2 separate regions of the Homo sapiens genome follow, and region 1 is linked to region 2. The links are contacts of gene promoters, found by promoter capture Hi-C in human tissues and cell types (Jung and others, 2019). All regions are on one chromosome and are shown on one strand. The core of a region is centred on a gene start or on the middle of the fragment in contact, and the rest is flanking DNA. Distances in the headings are between cores, read along the strand shown.

What was found. The method cuts DNA at HindIII sites, captures the fragments that hold promoters and counts their contacts. A contact is called where the count stands out against the background at its distance.
Region 1: a contact is called between a fragment that was not itself captured here and the fragment with the promoter of FNDC5 in region 2, in 3 of the 25 tissues and cell types used here (H1 embryonic stem cells, IMR-90 fibroblasts and spleen).

What each region holds. Positions count from the first base shown.
Region 1 is chr1:32,924,478-32,928,370 of GRCh38, forward strand. No RefSeq gene overlaps it. Among named protein-coding and RNA genes, the nearest start is that of TMEM54, 25 kb to the left of the region's middle. RefSeq lists an enhancer at 555-1,098. The HindIII fragment of the contact is 6,638 bases long and covers 1-3,893 here.
Region 2 is chr1:32,868,582-32,872,468 of GRCh38, forward strand. It overlaps FNDC5 (fibronectin type III domain containing 5), which reads right to left and starts at 2,331. Exons shown (of 6, transcript NM_001441683.1): 1 at 2,072-2,331; 2 at 301-416. The coding sequence starts at 2,309. The HindIII fragment of the contact is 14,778 bases long and covers 1-3,887 here.

The DNA.
Region 1 (3,893 bases), core at 811-3,310, 56 kb after region 2:
AACCCAGCACGGACAGAGAAATTTACAACCTGGGGGGCTGTAGTATCGGAAGAACAGAAGTATTATAACCAGAAGAAGCAGGAAAACAACTATAGTCCAACACTTCTTGCCACATAAGGACTGTCTCTTTAAGCTTTGAGATCTAGGGGGAGGACAAGAGGCAGGTCCGAGGTCAGTGGGACCAATGTGATCCCTCACTCCTCCTTGACCTATAGCCTAAATATTTTTGGTGTCTCCACGACTGGGAGGCAAAAAGTTCAAACTTGGCCTTTTCTTTTAAGGGTTTAAAAAGGGAGAGTAGAGCCAAATCTTGGGGGCGCTGGACTTGCTGTGACACAGGAAAACGAGATGTGCGGGGTAAGGGATGGGGATGTGGAGGAAAGGGGCCACTCGGATCTTCTGAGGCTGGGAGGAGCTGTGCCGGGCAGCGCTGGGTCCCCTGTGTCGCCAGGACGACTCTGTGGTCCCCCGCCCCGCCTCCAGGCCCCGTCAGGCACTGCAAGCCCGGCTCAGAAGCCCAGCCCGGGGCTAAGGTCACCACAGCAGGCCGGGCCCCTGCGTTCCGAGCCGGGTGTGGACGCGCTGGTGCTCAGGGATGTCAGGGGTTTTGACCCCTGAAGGCGCAGGAGTCAGGCGCCCGCGGGGGTCCCTGGGGGAGGGGGTCCTGCGCCGTCCCCTCCCACTCCTCGCCTGCAGGTCGGGGAGCCTCTGCCGAGGGAAAGGAGGCTGTTGTGTAAACTGGTGGAGGCGCGCCTGGCCCCTGGGCCCGGCAACCCGAAGAGACACGCCTGAGACCTCCTGTGTTAGAAAATCTGCACTCAGGACTTTGAAGAAGTCCTTGCCCAGTCGTCTTGGGCAATATCAACGACCAGACATAAGAAACTTAGACAGACACCAGACAGGACAATAGACACTAAACAAGACAATAGACACTGGGGTATATAAACAATTATGACAATTTTTATAGACAGACAAGGGGAGGGGGTCCCGTGATGGGATCAGTCAGATGCCCGCCTGGCTGCTCCCCCTGAGGGGACTTAGGCTCCTCTTCGCATTGGCAGACCGGTATAAACCCCCGGCTCAGATGGAGCTATGCCAGATGCTGCCTTAAGCCGTATGAGGTCGCCACGGAACAGTAGGTGAGGGCCCTCTCGAATTCCGTAGCTTTCACGGTGGAGCTACAAACTGGAAATTCAAGCGCAAGCCCTTGAACTCCACATACATGCACTGATTCACACAGAGTTTACAACAGGTTTTTTTTTTTAATTCCCGTTCTAAAACAGAGGTCTCCAGGAGACCTGAAAGAAGAAGAGATAGAGAAAGAGGGAGGGAGGGAGAGAGAGGAGAGAGAGAGAAAGAGAGAGAGCGAGAGAGAGAAGAGAGAGAGAGAGAGACAGACAGCCTAGACTTAACGGAGAGGCTGGCCTGCCAGAAACCAGGACTCAGTCCTCCAGCGTCCTAGAATATGGACAGAGTCACGGGAGGGCCCTCGTCAGGGCTGCTTCCCTCTCAGAGAGACACAGAGGCGCCTAACAGAAAACCAGGACTCCGTCCTCCAGCGTCCTGGAATGCGAGCAGAGTCAAAAAGGGACGGCCTTCATCAGAGCCACTTCCCTCCCAGAGAAACAGAGTCAGATCTGACTTACCTTCCCGGGACTAGAAACTGAGGACTTAGGAGTTGAATTTTTTGTGGGCACACACCGGTGGTCGATCCGTTCCCCTCCGGAAGATAGGGTCTTATGGGGCCCTGGAACGTCTTCAGGTGGCGCCTCCCCTGTAAGTCCGCCGTCTGTCCGGGGGAGCCTGGAACGAGTCGGGCTCTCACCCAGGGGCGAATTTCTCGCTGGGGCCTCCAAATGTTGTAACCAAGCGAGTTATAGAGAAACACCACATTTTGAAACTAATTCAGGAGTCTTTTATTACATGGCGACCGAGAGATGGCTAGAGCTCAAAATTCTCTCGGCCCCGAAGAAGGGGCTAGATTTTCTTTTACACTTTGGTTTAGAGAGGGGACGGGGAGCCTAGCTGTAGCAATCTTACAGAAGTAAAACAGGCAAAAAAAAAAAAAAAAAAAAAAAAAAAAGTTAAAAAGACAAATGGTTACAGGAAAACAAACAGTTCCAGGTGCAGGGGTTTTAAATTCATCACAAGCTGATAGGTGCGGGGGCTCTGGGTGCTATCTGCTGGACACAAATGCAGGGGCTTTAGGGTACCATCACCTGGGCGAATTCCTGGGAATCGCGGACATAGCTTGCCACAGTACCTTATCAGTTAATTGCACTCTTTGATATGCTGAGAGTCAGCTTGCACAAGTCCTTGAGGAAGGGGGTGGGTAAGGAGCCCTTGATGTCTTGCAAAGGAAGGAGCCAAATGGAGTCCATCTCGCTTTCTCAGCTAAGAGAGAGTCAATCAACTTAATACAAGTTACGGTATCACAAGAACATTTGAAATTTACTCTTCAAATGATGTACATTTGAAATGTACAATCATATACTATTGTATTAGGCCATTCTCAAATTACTATAAAGGAATACCTGAGACTGGATAATTTATAAAGAAAACAGGTTTAATTGGCTCATGGTTCTGTAGGCTGTGCAAGCATGGTACCTGGCATCTGCTTGGCTTCTGGGGAGGCCTCAGGAAGCTTTTATTCATGGTGGAAGGCAGAGCACTTAATACTGGTGAAAGCCAGAGAAATAGAGAGGTGGGGGAGGTGCCACACACTTTCAGTCAACCAGATCTCTAGACTCACTATTGTGAGGACAGCATCAATCCGTGAAAGATCCACCCCATGATCCAATCACTTCCCACCAGGCCCCATCTCCAGCACTGGGGATTACAATTCAACCTGAGATTTATATGGGCACAAATATCCAAACTCTATCAACTATTATTAACTATATTCACCATGCTGTGCAATAGATCTCAAAACAAACAAACAAACAAACAAACAAACAAACGTATTCCTCCTGAGGTCTTGTACCCTTTGACCATCATTTTCCCTATTCCCCTCAGCCCTCAGCCTCTGGTAACCACCATTCTACTTTGTTTCTATGGATTCAATTGTTTTAGATTCTACATGCAAGTGGTAACGTGGTATTAGTCTGTGCCTGGCTTATTTCACTTAGCATAATGTTCTCCAGCTCCATCCATGTTGTTGCAAATAACAGAATTTCTTTCTTTTTCAAGGCTGAATAGTATTCCATCATTTATAAATACATTTTCTTTATTTTTTCATCCATTGATGGGGTAGACTCCAACTTGTATGCGGAATGTTAGCTGCATGGGAGTCTGGGAAATAGTTTTTATCTTTGCAGCCTCTGCAGTATGAGGAAGTGTTTGGAATGGATGTTGAAAGTCAGTTCACCATGTCTACACAGTCTATCTTTTTGGACTTTTAGGGACCTAAATCCGCTCCTTAAAATAAGAGACCCCAAATCCCATCAGTCACATAGCTAGCTGATCCACCCTGGGTGATTATCATTCTAGTTCAGTTACAATTCTACCATAACAGCATATAATCTAAACACTAAATTAACAAGTTACCAACAGTAATACATTTCATTATACTAGGGAAAATATGGGAGGGGAAAATGAGTTAATATCTATAAATTAACACAATAGAGCAAGGAAGAAAATATGAAATGCTAATATAGTGCCCGTTTCTCAGCTTTTCATGAGTTAGTTGTTTCTATTTATATATATTTCTTTCTCCACCATCCAGTCCATGATCCTTCTTCCTCAGCCAGTATATGAACTGGATTAAGTTCTTTATCTGGTGGGGTGACCCAAATCACGGAGGTAGACATTCTCTTAATTTCCACAGGGATTATCTCCTATCCTTAGAACACATGTTTTACCAGGGCATTTGGATACCTGCTACTTCTTGCTTG
Region 2 (3,887 bases), core at 1,081-3,580:
TAAGCACTGGAGCTAGGTCCTAAATGCAGATGTCTCTGAGATCAAAACCTTAATTTCTGTGTTCCACTTGAAAGTTCCCAAACCCTCCCTCACTGACTGATTCTCTTCTAGAGAATTTTCAGACATATGTCTGAATGGGGCCCCAATTTTCAGACATATGTCCAAATTGCTGTTCATCTCCCTTGCCCCAAGTTCCTATTTCCTTTCTATTTCTCCATCACCACCACTGCCACACTCCTACCCCCATCTGCCACTACTGTCTTGATGTGTCCTTCCCTCCTAAGGACAGTGGAGCATTACCTGCTGGGAGATGGCAAATCCGATGACAACCTCATCCTCCAGAACATCCCAGCTCACCACTGCAGAGTTGGCCTTGAGGTGCCTGACGGTGACGTTCACTGGGGCTGAGGGACTGTCTGGGGGACGGGGAGGCACCTAAGCCTGAGCATCCCCTATTGTGAGGCCCAGACCCACTGTCTCATAAGTAAGAAGGGGAAACCTGGGGAAGGCCATGCAGGAGGGGAAGGAAGAAACTAAGGCCTCAAGTGGGGTCCAGTGACATGGCTCTCAGCTCTTCAGTGGGTTGAAGAACCAAGCCCAAGAGGCCCCAGGCTCCTCATGACTGGGACGGAAGCCCCTGCTGGCCACAGGCCGGCCCCATGAGGGGTCCAAGGCTCAAAGTGATGGGCCTGGGCCGGGGCCCTATCTAAGGGATGGGTGGTTAGAGTTGTGGAGAGAGTTATGTAGGGGACATAGGTGGACAGAAACTGAAGGTTAGCTGATGAAAAGCAGACAAAAGGACTCCCCAGTCCAGTGCTCTTTTGACAATACTGCCCTGTCCAATGAGTGACCTTGCGCGAAGGAGAAAGACCCAGAGATCGAGAAGTGTCAGGCTGGGGTGAGCCCTGGACTGGGAGTGAGGAGAACAGAAGTATCCTCAGAGCTGTGGTGGCCCAGGCAGAATAAAGCCTGCGGAAGAGTCTGTGTGAGCCTCTTATCCATGCTCTTCCAGCCCCAAGATGCAGGTGGGGAGGTGGCAGGGGAAGATGGGGTCACTCAGAGCAGGGCCCCTCCATGGCGAGTGGAGAGGAGAGAACAGGTAGGGGAAGAGGATGAATGAGGAATCACTCCAGAAGAGACAGGAGGGAAGTGGGGGTGAGAGTGATAGGGATAGTGGGGGTCAGTGAGGAAAACCGTCCAGGAGAGGGGCAGTGCAGTCACATAAGGCTCAGTATCTTCCAAGGGGCAGGTGCAGCACGGGGCAGAGCTGCGCCTGAGCAGCACCCCTCACCCCACAGAGAGTGAACTTGAGACCCAGGGGGCTGGGCCTGGGACCTGAGGGAGACAGAGCCAGACATGGAGGGGGAGGTGGAGAGACAGGACACAGACAGGTGGTGGCAGACACAGAACCAGAGGACAGAGAAGTGGGGCATCTGAGAAAGACAGCTGCGAGAGAGCGCTCCCCGAGCCACGGAGGGAGAGATGAGCCGGGCAGCGGCAGCCAGGAGGGACAAAGACAGAGTGGCAGGAGAGGCTGGGCAAGGACGGGCCGGCCCCATGGGGCAGGCCAGACACTGTACCAGATCAGGGGTGCCGGGGCCCACCCCACGCCCTGCGCCCTCAGGTGCCAGCCCCCATCCCCTTCACACGTGCTCCTGCACAGCGGGACCCCATCTGCCCCTGCAGAGTTGGCTTGCAGGGCTTTGAGAGGTCCTGGGGACACAGAGAGAGGCCCAGGTGGGGGAACTGGTGTCCTCAGCTGCTCCCTGGGTCAAAGAAGGGAGCTAGGGAAGCTGAGGCAAAGACCTGGGGTTAGGGGAATGGGATTAGGGGACTGGGGACCACAAGACCCTAGGAAACCCAGGGCTGAGGTGACAGGGGAGATTTGGAAACTGAAGGACAGGTCTGGGGGTCAAGGAGGTAGGAAGACGCTGGGGGCTGGGTTAGGGGAGCAGTGTTTGGGCCGAGACAGGAGTCCCTAGGGGGCAGAGAAAGGACCAGGGGACTCCCAGGTAGCTGGGCTCGAGAGGAGCCTGCCCCGGCGCCGGCCCCCCGCCCCGGGCCCCCTTACCCGCCTGCACCAGCGCGAAGCAGACGCAGCCCAGCCACAGGCGGAGCGCGGCGCGGGCGCGGGGCGGCCAGGCGCTCGGCGACCCGGGGTGTATGGTGGCTCCTCCGGCCGGCAGGCCCGGGGCGGCGCAGGGGGACGCGGCTCCGGCGCCCGGCGGCCGCTCGCGCTCGCGCTCCGGCCCCCGGCCCGGCCGGCCCGGCCGCTCCGGCCGCCCTGCGCCGCCCCGAGCCGCCTGCATGTCGGCTCCGCGGACAGCGACTCCCGCGCGGCGGCGGTGGCGGCGGCCGCGTCCACGTCGGGCGCCCGGGGGGCGGGGCGCCCCCGCTGCGGGGAGAGGTGCGGGGGCGGGGTGAGGACCGGAGGGCGCCCCCACTCCCGCCCCCGCTGCCTATTAGGTCCTCTGCCGGGGAGGAAGGGGCTTCGCGGACCCACGGCTCCCGCCCTCTCACCGAGCGGGAGCCCAGCGGGGTTCTCCGCGCCCCCGCCGCGGTCACTCTCTCTCCCGTGCACAGCCCTGACTTGGCTGCCGCTTTCTGCCCTTTCCCAGGGTAGAGAGAGGACAAGTGCCACCGAGATGCCCGTTTGTGCCCCCACCCCTAAGCGCGCCTCCCTTCCCTGGGCCTAGGGATCCCCTCATTCCACGGTAGACCCGAGGCCTTGCGGCTGGGGCAGACGGGAGCAGAGGGGAGAGATCACAGTAAGGCTGGGGTGAGCAGAGAGTGCTAAGTGGACACTAGGGCTCCGTGTTTCCAGTGGGGTTGGGAAGAGGCTGCTCTGTCTCACTGGAGAGTCCAGCTCTGTGACCCCAGGCCAGTCCTTTTCCTTCATTTTCATCCCCATAGTGAGGGCAGTAATGAGCGTCTACCAGGGGCCAGATACTATGCTGAGCTTTCTTTGCATTATGTGGCTTAATTCTCAGGGCAACCCTGTAAAGTCATACTCTGCACACTTTGCACAGGAGGAGCCTGCAGCTTGGACAGGCTACTTGACTTGTCCAGGGACCCGCAGCAGAGCCAGGATTTGAACACAGGCTGATCTGACTCCCAAAGCTGTGCTTAACTGAACTGTCTCCCCACCCAGAGTGACTTCACCCATCCGGAGATTCGTGAGACTCTAGAATTGGCCGGGGCCAGCTCCTCCCCAGCCAGAAAACAGTCTGCAGCAATCTCTAAGAGCATCTCTGAGAAGGGGAGTGGCTCCAGCCCCCTTCCCTCATCTCAGCCAGAGAAACAAGGTGGAGGAGAGAGGCATGGACCAGGGCTCAGGGCCTTTTGTCTCAGCAAGAACCCCTGAGCCCCCTCCCACGACTATCCGAAATTCCACTACTAGCGGGGCATTCCTTTGGGTCTTAAAGGTTTTCCAGAAGCCCTGGAAGGGCTAATTTTCTTTGGAAAGGAGACGTCTTGCAAAGTTCTGCCACAGAAACGTCTTCAGGGTCTTCCTCTCCATCCCCCTGGTTTTACATTAAGGAAGTGAGGTCTACCGATGGGAAGAGCTTGGTGCAGATTCACACAGTGGGTCAAGAGGAGCGATAGACAACCCTCCTCTCCTTATGCCCACCCAGGACTCCTTCGCTGGCCCTGTGTTCCTCCTTGGTCACCTTGGAAGGGGTGAGATGGAAGCGAGCTTAGGGGCTCTTGTTGAGCAGCAGAATTTTCCTGCCCATCCCCTCAGTGCCCCCAGACCTGCCCCACTCGGCAGGGTGACACTGCCCAGCCCTATCATTTCCCCCGCCACATACCTTGTCCTGGGAGAGCCTCAGCTGGGACCTCGACCCGTTTGGGAGAAGAGCCCCGGAGCCAGAGCACCTCTCTCT